2 separate regions of the Homo sapiens genome follow, and region 2 is linked to region 1. Evidence: promoter capture Hi-C in human tissues and cell types (Jung and others, 2019). All regions are on one chromosome and are shown on one strand. Each heading gives the region's core, a stretch centred on a gene start or on the middle of the fragment in contact. The rest is flanking DNA. Distances are from core to core; before and after follow the strand shown. Region 1 holds the start of MTNR1B (melatonin receptor 1B). Region 2 overlaps SLC36A4 (solute carrier family 36 member 4).

Region 1 (6,864 bases), core at 3,802-6,301:
GTCAGGAAAGGTAAAGATCATGCAACCAGCAGCAGAGAGAACATGCCTGCTCTGACCCCGCCCAGCCTGGCTCAACTACAGGATCGTCCGACTGGTTTCTGCCACAGGCATGTGCTGGGAAATATGAGGGAGGCTGCCCAGAAGGTGGTGGCTTTGTAGTTGTGTCTTGTTTAAACTCTTTTATTGTAGAGCATCCTTCTTTCCAGGCCATTCTTCACCTGAGGGAAAGATTAGGGCAGCTTCACGATGCTAGGCAGTGGTATATTTTTTTAGTGATCTGTATAAACCATTTTTTTTTCAAAGCTGACAGCAAGAACATCTGGAGTCTTACTCTATTTTCTCTCAGGGTTCAATCTACTCAACATTGTTGAGTTTCCCTATCTTTCTTGTGAGGTAACAAGGGTCTGTATATTTTAATATATCCCACTGCAAGAGTAAAATGGCCCCAGGTTCTAGGATCGGGCAGCCTAGGTTGCAATCCTAGCTCTGAAACCACTAGCTCAGCAACCTTGGGTAGGTTTCTTAACCTGTGTAAATCTCAGTTTCTTCACAGTACACAGTAATATGTTACATAGAGATGAGAGGATTAAACAAAAGAATGCAGATGTCCCCTATGTGTAATGCAGAGCAATTACTAGATATTAGCTGTGTGCTAGTTACTCTTTATAGCATTATTAAAAGTGCTTGTCAGCCATGCTACAAGCTGATTACCAAAAGAAAATTTTGCTTATTTTCTTTGTATATTTCATACTGAAGGAGTAAAAGCTGTCACACTTTATTTATTTATTTATTTATTTATTTATTTATTTATTTAGTGACAGGGTTTCACTGAGTTGCCCAGACTAGAGTGCCCTGGCATGATCACAGCTCGTTCAGCCTAGACCTCCCAGGCTCAAGCAACCCTCCTGCCTCAGCCTTCTGGGTAGCTAGGACCACAGGTGCATGCCATCGTGCCTGCTAATTATTTTATTTTTTGTACAGACAAGGTTTCACTTTGTTGCCTAGCCTCAACTCCTGGCCTCAAGTGATCCTCTGGCCTCAGCCTCCCAAAGTGTTGGGATTACAGGTGTGAGCCACTGTACCTGGACCTCATTACACACTTAATAAAATAAATAGATTGCATAATGCCACTGGTCACTCATCAGCCACCAACCTTGGCAATTCACTTCTCTGACAGTCTGTTTCCTTCTTTTCTAGCTGGGCCAATCACTGCTATCTCCCAAGATACCCTGGTTGAAAGATGTTTGGGAAAGGTTTCAAGTACTATCTGGAGTAAAAGGTGTTACTGTTGGGATACATGACAATGAGCTTCTACGGTCAGATATTCATTTGAGTTTGAACTTGGGATACGTGTTGAGAAAACCAGTTCTGCTCAATTTTTAAATCCTAGGACACTCGGTAAGCATTCAAAATGTTGATTTATTTCTTTGAGAAAACATCTAGTAATCTTGAAACTCTCTTGTCTTTTTTCCCTCTCCTTCTCCAGAGTTTGATTTTCTTCCCATAAAATTTCATTATACTGTTGGCAGCAACTATTATTTTTGCCTTTTGTACAAATAATCTTTTTAGTTTATATTCAGGCACAGCAGTATCTGCGATGCTATAGTTTACATTACAGTTCACTCTTGGTGTTGTACATTCTTTGGGTTTTGACAAATGTATAATGACATGTATTACCCATTATAGTATCATATGAAACAGTTCCTCTGCCTTAAAAATCCTCCGTGCTCAACCTATTCATCTTTCCCTCACCCCAAACTCTTGGCAACCACTAATCTTTTTACTGTATCCATAATTTTGCCTTTTCCAGAATGTCATATAATTGGAATCAAGAAACAGTATGTAGCCCTTTCAGACTGGCTTATTTCACTTAGTAATATGCATTTACAGTTCCTCCATGAGTGTTCATGGCATCATGGCTCATTTCTTTTTAACACAGAATAATATTCCATTGTCTGGATGTGCCACACAGTTTGTTTATTTATTCACCTATTGAAAGACATCTTGGTTGCTTCCAAGTTTGGGAATTATAAGTAAAATTGCTGTAAACATCGGTGTGCAGGTCTTTCTGTGGACATATATTTTCAACTCACTTGGGTAAGTACTAAGGAATACAATTGCTCGATGCGATGGTAAGGGTATGTGTTGTTTTGCAGTGCATCACCAAACTGCCTTCCAAAGTGGCTGTATCATTCCCCCACCATTTTAAGGCACAGCCTGGCCAGCCATGCCAGGATGTAGCATTGACTTCTTAGATAGGTGAACATCCCAATTCTTTGTGCCTATCTTGAGATATGCTATTATGGACAATCACATTCCAAGGCAGCATAGGGCAAATTCCTATGTTTCATGCTCAGTTTAACAAATGTGTGTTATTAGAGGGTGTGTCTGGATGGAGGTAACTTATACTGTGTCCAACTCACCTATTGCTATGTTGGCGTGTGAAAGTTGAGAAGTGCCACGATGTGTTTGCACCTGTAAGACAGGGAAGGCGTGGCTGTCTCTTCTTCCTGAAAAAGCCTCTTGGCTTTGACACTGCCCATTGGTGTCTCTTTCCCCTTTGCTGTTGCTCTCCTGAGGACATGTTGGTCATTCCTCCTCATTCACTGGGGATTCGCCTCCTGACTCATAGTTTTCCTTTTCTTACCCCACCATAATATCCACCCCCGACTTCTCAGTTCCTTTACCTTCTCATCTCTAACAACATTTTTCTCACCTTCCACCAGCAACCCACTACCCATAATCACCCTCAGAGCCTTCACAGCAACAGAATCTACATGCCTCAGACATCTCAGTTTCAAACAACTCACCCTTTCAGCACCACAACTTACATTTTCTGATTCACTCACCACAATTCCTTGAAGTCACAGGGCCTGCAATCTCTTGACTTTTCCTTTGTCTCACAGCCCATCAGCCCCTCTGTTTTCTCATCACCCCTCATTAATGTAAACCCCAGGATCCATCTTCTCACCAGGCCCCTGAACTTTCTTCTGTTATTTGCTCCTACCCAGCAGACCCCAATCCTGACTGAAATTCACTCTGCCTTCTCCATGCCTGTCCTGAGTAGCTCCAAGTTGCTGATTAACAACCACTGGCCAGGCTGAGTGGCATCATTTGAAGCCATCATCTCAAGCTGCAGGGGGACATTCATGCTCCTGACACGCCTGTTATACTTTACTAGTTAATGTTTCCACTTTCTGAAGTGCTCCTTCATATCTTTTTTTTGTCTTCAAATCTCCTACACTGTTCCCCTGAATCCTGGCTAATGGGTAGCCTCTATCTCCCTGAGAATACAGAAGCCAGACAAGAGTTCTCTTCTTTCCTCACACCAGTTTAGAAGTGCATCTGAATTTGCATCTGGCTTCTGATTCCTTTCTACTACAAGAAAGAAAGCCTCCCTCTCCTAACAAATAATATTTCTTCCTTGGGTTTTGGATGAGCTCACTTTAAGGAGTTCTGGATTAGCTCACTTCAAGGATGAGCTCACTTCACCTCTCCCTTCCCTCTCCCTTCCCTTCAACATCCACTCATGCCTCTGCATCATCAGCCCCTCCGTCTCCACTGCATCCTTCCTTCTTTTTTTCCCCCCTTTAAAGGAGAGGGGCAATATAACTTACGTAAAATAACATATGTAAAAATAACAATCCAGAAATTTTTTGGTGTTTGTTTCTCAATACCCACCCTCAAATGTAACCACTTTTCTGATTTCTATTAGAAAATAGATTAATTTTCCCTGATTTTGGACTTCCTATAACTGGAATAATATGGTATATATTTTTTGGTATCTGGCTTCTTTTGTTCAATACAACATATTTGTGATTAATCCATGCTGTTGTGTAGGTCAATCATCTTTATTGCTGAGTAGTATTCCATTGCAAGGTCATACCATAATTTGCTTATCCATTCTTCTGTTGGTGGAAATTGCAGGTGTTACCAGATTTGAGCTCCTATAAACAAGGCTGCTCTGGACATTCTTGTACAGGTCTTTTGGTGGAAATATACTTTCCTTTTCATTTGGAACTTCTGGTCATAGAATAGGTGTATATTTAACTTTATTAGGAGCTAACAGACAGCTCTTCAAAGTGGCTATACCATTTTGCATTCTCATAAAAGCAGTGTATGAGGGTTCTGGTTGCTTAACTTCCTCCACAAATATAGGATAATCAGTCATTTTGATTTTAGTGATTCTAATGGGTGTGAAAAGTGCTTTGGGGTCATAAGATTAGCCCCCATTAGAAGTTATCTATTATTATTATCACCAGATCACGACTCAAACATTTTTAATAAAGGGCACCTGAGTTCCTTCTTTATTGTAATCATGCCTCAATCTTCTTCTTGTCCTAACCCCTCCAAAAACCACATCATAACCCCCAATATTGGCCATACATCTATTTAAGTATTATGTGTAAATATATGTTGGTAAATATGTTAAAGTATTGGCTTTATAAAGAGGACCCAGTAGAGACATCATCAATGCCCCCCACAATACCCAGCGAGTGCTTGGAAAATGGCTAGGTTCGTATTTTTCTGCAGCTCCCTAGAATATAACAGTCTACCCTACTTTGTTCTGGGCTCTGTCCCCACATCTTAGGAGTTGCATTCTCTTTCGGGCTGCACAGCCCTATGGGACGTCAAACCTTGCCTTTCTTGACAACTGATGGGAGGTCCCTACCATCAGCACCTTCTCCAGTCTATCAACCTGGGTTGGACGTCCCTACCTAGACACAGCTTCTCTTGGGGACGCTGTGGAGGAAATCGGGGTCTCGGGTGTGGCTATATACTCAGGGACAGAAGCTAGACGCGCTCCGCAGCCTGAGGTGGGCCAGGCACCTGCTGGGCTCGGGGTGGCAGAGACAGCTGTGCGGTCCCAGCTGTTCCTGAGCGCACCGCTGAGGGACGCACTCCCTTCTACAACGGCTGCACCCCAAGTCCTCCTCCCATTCCTATATTTTTCTCCATCCCCTGCCCACGCTTAATTAGTTATCTCCTCCAGACCCCTCCCCACTGGCCTCCTCCCTTGCACACGCGAGCTGGGCAGGGAAGAGAGCGCCCGGCTCAGTACTGCGCGCGCCCTGCGGCTGTCCGGGGCCGCGCGGTGGCCAAAGCACAGCGCGGGAGAGTCTGCGATGTCAGAGAACGGCTCCTTCGCCAACTGCTGCGAGGCGGGCGGGTGGGCAGTGCGCCCGGGCTGGTCGGGGGCTGGCAGCGCGCGGCCCTCCAGGACCCCTCGACCTCCCTGGGTGGCTCCAGCGCTGTCCGCGGTGCTCATCGTCACCACCGCCGTGGACGTCGTGGGCAACCTCCTGGTGATCCTCTCCGTGCTCAGGAACCGCAAGCTCCGGAACGCAGGTGAGCACCATTCCTGATGCTGGGTGCTGGCATCGGGCCCTTCCTTGTCTTCTGATCTTGTCCCTGACCCCGGGATATGCGCTGCCTTTTCCCTCCTCAGCCCGGGCTCCCCTTTCCCTTCACTCTAACCTATTCCTTAAGTTTGACTCTGCACTCAAAAGTTAGGGTGAGTTTTGCCCCTCCGAAGTGCGGCTGCCCAGGACGCGCTTGGCACAGAGGGAATTGCGGAAAGTTTTACTGGCGCGCTTTTTGGCCGGGCGCCGGCGCTGTGGGAACCCACGCTGCTGGATGCCATCGCTACCCCGTCGCGCTCCAATGCGTGTCTTTCCAGAGGTGCCCACATCAGGCCACAGAAATCTCACCACCTGTACTTGACATCCCACTTCCTTCCTTGCCAAGCACTGTAGCTTTATGTAGTAGTCGCTTAGAAAATCCTTGCTGAAAAAATGAGTTAATCAATGGAAGCATTTCAGTAGGTTTTGTGTCAAAAACTTATCTCCAGGTCATCTGAAGACCCAATTCCAGTTGACGGAGAGTAAATGCAGAAATTGCAGATTCTGCTTGGACTGAACTAAATTGCTTTGAAATATTGTGGTCTTTTCCGAAGACTGGGAATTCCTGGGATTAACTGTGAAAATTAAAGCAATGATTTGGCTAAATCGTGTTGTAATCCTGAAAATATTTTTCCTATTTCAATCCACTCTCATTTCAATATTCCCCTAGTCAGGTCTTCAAAGAAACAAAACCAGAGTGGGGGGCAGTATCTGAACTCTAGCCCTCACAGGTCATGGGGCATGATGACCACTTCAGCTTAGGAAGGAGCTCAGTCACCTGTTTGTTAATTTTGCAGTTTCTTCAAGTTGGGCCTTGGGAGCAAATTCAAATATTAGAGTGAATTAAAATGGAAAGATAGCAGCAGTAAAACAACCATATAGCTTAAAAATGCTTTTCTAAGGAGTCAGACCATTTTTAGCAAATAGTAATATGTATTTGGTGTGGCCTGTGACTCTAGAAATTTTTTTTTTTTGAGATGGAGTCTCTCACTCTGTCACCCAGGCTGGAGTGCAGTGGCATGGTCTAGGCTCACTGCAACCTCTGCCTCCCAGGTTCAAGGGATTCTCTTGCCTCAGCCTCCCGAGTAGCTGGGATTACAGGCGCTCGCCACTACACCCAGGTAATTTTTTATATTTTTGGTAGACACAGTATTTCACCATGTTGGCCAGGCTGGTCTCGAACTCCTGACCTCAAGTGATCCACCCGCCTCGGCCTCCCAAAGTGCTGGAATTACAGGCATGAGCCACTGCGCCCGGCCAACTCTAGGATTTTTAGCTAAAAAAACAAACAAGAAACTCCTCCAACTGTGAGTATCCAGCCATCATATGGGAAACATAACATTATTAAGAAGAAGTAAACTTTCTAACTCACTTCAGTAGTGGTGGCTGTTTTCTGGAATACATTGTTCAAAATATTGTGTCCTTTGAAGAAAAGCTTATATATTAGGGAAAAACAGGTTAT
Region 2 (6,258 bases), core at 3,306-5,805, 190 kb after region 1:
AAAATAAAAGCCTATTTAGGTCCATTATTTGCATCTGAAGGGTAAATGCAGATACATCAGAACACAAAACAAAGCACTTGATATTACAGCACCAAAAACAAAAATGTGGAAAATAACTTAGCACATTCATTTTAATTATACAAATAGTTAATGGTGCTCTCCACATACCGACTCTAAGACAGGATATCAGGAAACAGAATGGTACTTTTCTAGTCTGCAGAGGCAACTAACTTAAATGAAGGATTTTAGTGGGTTTTCTCTACAAACTACTAAAGATTTATAGGTTTTGATACTTATAAAGTCATAGTCTACTATAGATTATAAAAACAAGGACTTTTAAAAAATTACAAACAGTAGAAGGATCAACAAATTAGAGAGTAACAGAAGTAAATAGTACTTAGTATATTTTGTTGATTCAATTCATACACAGAATTGAAACACTGGTCTCAGTGTTTATTATAATACATTTAAAAATGTAATGGCTCATAGTACAGGTTTACTCTTAAAAGGTATTTATGTCCATGGTGACCTTTGGCTGGTTTCTACCGTCCCTCCTCCCTCACTTGTGAGGTGCCTATATACCAGGTAAGCACCTAAAGGGAACACGCAGGAGGAGTCTGAATCATTTCTAAAGTTTTTGAATTTCACTAAGAAGATATTTTGAGATCATGATTCAAATGCTAAATGGATACTTGGACACAACCAACATAATCCAAGCTGATAAGTCCACTTCTTTAAGGACTAATACAACAAACATGGATTCAGTACTTGGAAAGGATTATGGAACATTGAAAGACATTCAATTTTCAATGCAAATCAGGCTGAGCCTCCACTCTCATTGCTAGTGCTGCTGCACAGCCTACTCTACAAACATGACAAAGTCCCATCAACTGTCTACACACATTTATCAGTAAAGTGTACGCCCCCAAATCTTTTCAAGTGCTTTGGAAAACAGAATTAAAAAGCAGTTTTGCCATGAATATCAGTTGGCTTTTACTTTAATTTGGAAGGATATGTGCCAAAGACACAAATGAAGTTCAGGTTCAGTGTCCAGTGATGTGTCCCAATATAGCAGAAGGAAATATTACAGTTTTTGTTCCCTTTCTCCAAGGCATATCCCATATATGGATGAGAAGCTTTAATGACTTTTAACTAAAAGAAAGCAGCAGCCAAGAAAAGGCTGCAGTTCTCTGTGCTATGAACTAAGCCCCTGGCTTCTGGAAACAAACTCATGGAAGCAGATGTGGCGTGGTCTGTGCCTCAGCTGATTCATAACTTCAATACAACAATGCCAGCCAATATACAGAAATGGGTGAAGTTATAAAAAAATCCTAGACCCCTTTTCCCATTGCCCTCAAACTCCTTTACCTGAATTTCCATTACCAACTTTAAAAGACGATATACTTTCAGAATAGAATTGTCTTACATCTATTGATAAAAACACTTTTACTGAAATTAGTCTTTTTATTTAGTCATTACCAAAATGTCAATAAAATAAATGTATAAAAATACTTCAAAATGTCTTAAAATATCTTTTTCCTACTGAATGTTTTTTCATTTGTCATCAGAGTATGGGCTTATTGACTTCATTTGTTAATATGATTTCTCTTATTAGTGATATAATTCATTTAAGTAATTACTTCGAAAAATACATTTTATCTACTTTTTCAGCTTTGCATTTCCCATTTCAAACAAAATATAATACACTCAATTCTTTAAATCTAGGCATGAGCTCCATGGCAGGCTGCTCAAATCAATTTATTGAGTTGCCCCGAATTTCTAGCTCTACTATTCTAAATAGTGCAAGATGTTTATTAATATCTTACACAAGGAATTTCCAAAGCTGCTTGTTCCCCAGAACACTAGTAATCTGGTCCCTGGTATCATTTTAGGCAATCCCAGTTTAGTTTGGTGATGTAATCATCTGTATATTTGTAGTTACAGTAATGGTTACAATAATGATCATAACTTCCAGCTATTAATACTTTGTTAATATTATTTCTAACCCCATCAAAATGCCATAAGGAAGTTTTATCTTCATTTCACAGTTGAGGAAAGAGGGGCTCAACAATGGCATGTAACTTGCCTAAAGACACCACCGAGTAAGTGATAGGCTTGACTTTGAATTCCCAGATCTGTCTGACTCCAAAACTTACACTCTTTCCACTATACTGAACTCAAGCTCCCTTTCCATGAGTCTCTATTATGAATGCTACCTTGAGAAGGCATTTTATGATGAAGAGTCTTAATAAAAGATTATATACACTTCTTCAAATAATAAGAAAATAAGACACTAAAATTATGAAAGACCAATACAAGTAAAATTAAACACTTTCCTGTAGGTAGTTATGAAGAAGTAAACTGTTAAAATATACAAAAACAGGAATGAAAAACCTGAGAAAAACTAGAACCAAAATAAAATGTGTATCAGAAATGGAAGGGGTCCCATGTACACATTATTTTAATCACCAGTAATGTAATTTTCAAAATAACTTCATTAGTTATTTTAAGTGTGATAGGATCTGGTTTGTGTTTTTCTTATGTAGTAGTAGAAAAATTGAATTTTAACCTGAAAAGTAACCCAGCTGGGTGAATAAAATTGTTTTAAAAATATTGAAAAATACATCTTATGTAGCTTTCATTTTAAGAAATTACATCTTATATAGCTTTCAAGAAATTGAACAATAAAAAATTATTATGATATAAATATATAATGATACTTACAAGTAATACTAACCAAGAAGGATCTTATCCCAAATTCACAGATTTGCTTCCATTTAGTATGAAATTTGGATGTGATCCCAGGGATAATGATCTCTGCTGGAACATAGAACTGAATTGAATATGTCACAAAAATGCCAAAGGAATATAGAATTTTCACTGATTGATATAACCTGTTGAAAAAAATTTTCAAAATTTAGTCATTTTTAATGTGAATTTAGTTTTCCTCCTTTATTTTTAATATTAAGATAAATAAGAAATCCAGAATACCAAATTAGGCCAGAACCTTACTAACTAAAAATGCTTGTTTGTAAAAAAGGCAAATTGATCTCTAACTAAATTTCTAGATGATACAAGAACAATTCATTTTCACAAGACTGGAAAGCTTGAACATGCATGCCAGGGTTTAGGGTATAGTGGTAAAAAGATTTCACTTTGGGATAAGCCAATATTCTGAAGGTTAGACTCAGCCCCTCAAAGAGCTAAAGTTTTCTCAACTTTCTTTTTAAAAACTGAGCCTACTATATGTCTTAAATCCTGAGTCATACCCTCGTTGATCTTTACATAGAAGAAAAACTCACATTAAACTTAAGTATAGTTCTTGGGTGAAAATCTTTGGAGGTATGTCATCAGTTGCAGAAATGTCATCCATCTTAAGTCTAAAAGCAGACATCTAAACGGTTTCAACTTGCTAAGTTCTCTAAATTACACATACAATCTATTGTTTAAAATTACATTAAATAAGAGACATACAGTTGCTGGGTAAGGTTGTTGTTATTCTTTTGGGCAAATTAACTTATCTCTTTGATATACAGTGCTTCAAAACAGCACAGCAATTTTCAGTTTTATAAATATCTTTAGATTTCTACATTATGGATAACCTCCTGTCAAAACTTCGCATGCATGTCTTGATAAAGACTTCAGTAACTTTCTTAAGCCCAGAAAAAGAAGACTTTTTAAACGTTAATGACATGAAGAGAAAACAGAATTGTAGGACCTAGAGGAAGAAACATTACAGAATCCACTCTTTAGGGTTGCAGAATAATAAAATTAATATGCTGTATTTAAAAAAACATTTTAATATTTTATAAAATTCAAAAGAAAAACCCAACCATCTTGCATTTTTTAAGTAACAAAGCAGAGAAAACACTGTGGGTTCAGTGTGCTGCAACTTCGGGGCAGTGATTAACACATATGTCCTCTTTCAGCAGAAACATCTTCCCACGGTTTTCTCATTTAAGAGTTCTACTTTCCCACCTAAAATTCCCATGCACAGGGAAGAGTGTTTTCTTTCTTACAAAAAAATGCAATCATTTTAAAAGGATTATATTCTACTTTTGGTATATAATGTCAAGGTATATAAACCTTGACATTAATGAAGCTTTAAGTATAAATGTACTTAATATATAAGTATATAAATGTCGACATTAATGGAGCTTTATTTCTGATGTCTTAAGACTTAAAGTAGTAAGGATTTTTTAATTTGACTTTTAAAGTTCAGGGGTACATGTGCAGGTTATATAGGTAAATTTGTGTCATGGGGGCTTGTTGTACAGATTATTTCATCACTCAGGTATTAAGCCTAGTACCCATTGGTTATTTTTTCTGATCCTCTCCCTCCTCACACCCTTCACCCTCAATAGGCCCCAGTGTGTGTTGTTCCCCTCCATGTGTCCGCGTTTTCATCATTTAGCTCCCACTTATAAGTAAGAATATGTGGTATTTGGTTTTCTGTTCCCATGTTAGTTTGCTAAGGGTAATGACCTCCAGCTCCATCCATGTTCCTACAAAGAACATTATCTCATTCTTTTTTATGGCTGCATAGTATTCCATGATGTATATGTACCACATCTTCTTTATCCAATCTATCACTGACAGGCATTTAGGTTAATTCCGTATCTTTGCTATTGTGAAAAGTGCTGCAATGAACAAAGGTATTTATGTGTTTTTCTAATAGAATGATTTATATTTCTTTGGGTATAAACCCAGTAATGGGACTACTGGATCAAATGACATTTCTGTTTTAAGGTCTTTGAGGCATCGCCACACTGTCTTCCACAATGTCTTGAACTAACTTATACTCCCATCAACAGTTTATAATAAGTGTTGTTCCTTTTTCTCCATAAGCTCACTAGCATGTTATTTTTCGACTTTTTAGTAATAGCCATTCTGACAAGTGTGGGATGGTATCACACTGTGGTTTTGATTTGCATTTCTCTAATGATCAGTAATGTTGAGCATTTTTTTTTCATATGACTGTTGGCGGCATGTATGTCTTCTTTTGAGAAGTGTCTGTTCACGTCCTTTGCCCACTTTTTTTTTTCTTTTTTTTTGGGGTGGAGTCTCACTCTGTTGCCCAGGCTGGAGTGCAGCAGCTCAATCTTAGCTCACTGCAACCTCCACCTCCCCAGTTCAAGCGATTCTCCTGCCTCAACCTCCCAAGTAGCTGGGACTACAGGCGCCTGCCACCACACCTGGCTAATTTTTGTATTTTTAGTAGAGATGGGGTTTCACCATATTGGCCAGGCTGGTCTCAAACTCCTAACCTTGTGATCTGCCCGCCTTGGCCTCCCAAGCCCTTTGCCCACTTTTTAATGAGATTCTTTTCTTATAAATTTCTTGAAGTTCCTTTAAATGCTGGATATTAGACCTTTGTTCAATGCATAGTTTGCAAAAATTTTCTTCCATTCTGTAGGTTGCCTGTTCACTCTGTTGATAGTTTTCTGTGCTGTGCAGAAGCTCTTTAGTTTAATTAGATCCCATTTGTCAATTTTCACTTTTGTTGCAATTGCTTTTGGAGTCTTCATCATAAAATCTTTGCCCATTCCTATGTCCAGAATGGTATTTTCTTCCAGGGTTTTTATAGTCTGGGGTTTCACATTTAAGCCTTTACTCCATCTTGAGTTAATTTTTTGTATATGGTGTAAGGAAGGGGTCCAGTTCAGTCTATCCCATATGGCTGGCTGGTTATCCTAGCACCATTTATTGAATAGCGAATCCTTTCCCCATTGCTTGTTTTTGTCAGGTTTTTCAAAGATCAAATAGTTGCAGGTGTGTGGCCTTACTTCTGGGCTCTCTATTCTGTTCCATTGGTCTATGTGTCTGTTTTTGTTCCAGTACAATGCTGTTTTGGTTACTACAGCCCTCTCGTATAGTTTAGAGTTGGGTAGTGTGATGCCTCCAGCTTTGTTCTTTTTGCTGAGGACTGCCTTGACCCTTCAGGCTCATTTCTGGTTCCACATGAATTTTAAAATAGTTTTTTCTAGTTCTGTGAAGAATGTCAATGGCAGTTTAATAGGAATAGCATTAAAACTATAAATTGCTTTGGGCAGTGTGGCTATTTTTATGATATTGATTCTTCCTATCCATGAGCATGGAATGTTTTTCCATTTGTTTGTGTCATCTCTGATTTCTCTGAGCAGTGTTTTGTAATTCTTGTTGTAGAGATCTTTCACATCCCTGGTTAGCTGTATCCCTAGGTATTTTATTCTTTATGTGGCAATTGTGAATTGTGGCAACACAATACCATTCACAATT

What was found. Contacts are between HindIII fragments. The study calls those that stand out against the background at their distance.
Region 2: a fragment that was not itself captured here is called in contact with the fragment with the promoter of MTNR1B in region 1 in 1 of the 25 tissues and cell types used here (mesendoderm cells).

Annotation. Positions count from the first base shown.
Region 1 is chr11:92,964,600-92,971,463 of GRCh38, forward strand. MTNR1B (melatonin receptor 1B) reads left to right here and starts at 5,052. Exons shown (of 2, transcript NM_005959.5): 1 at 5,052-5,349. The coding sequence starts at 5,127. It overlaps LOC124902733 (a long non-coding RNA gene), which reads left to right and starts at 1,098. Exons shown (of 2, transcript XR_007062838.1): 1 at 1,098-1,398; 2 at 1,940-4,316. RefSeq lists an enhancer at 5,600-6,099. The HindIII fragment of the contact is 7,785 bases long and covers 2,000-6,864 here.
Region 2 is chr11:93,151,384-93,157,641 of GRCh38, forward strand. It overlaps SLC36A4 (solute carrier family 36 member 4), which reads right to left. Exons shown (of 11, transcript NM_152313.4): 10 at 2,725-2,894. Among named protein-coding and RNA genes, the nearest start is that of SLC36A4, 43 kb to the right of the region's middle. The HindIII fragment of the contact is 4,868 bases long and covers 2,122-6,258 here.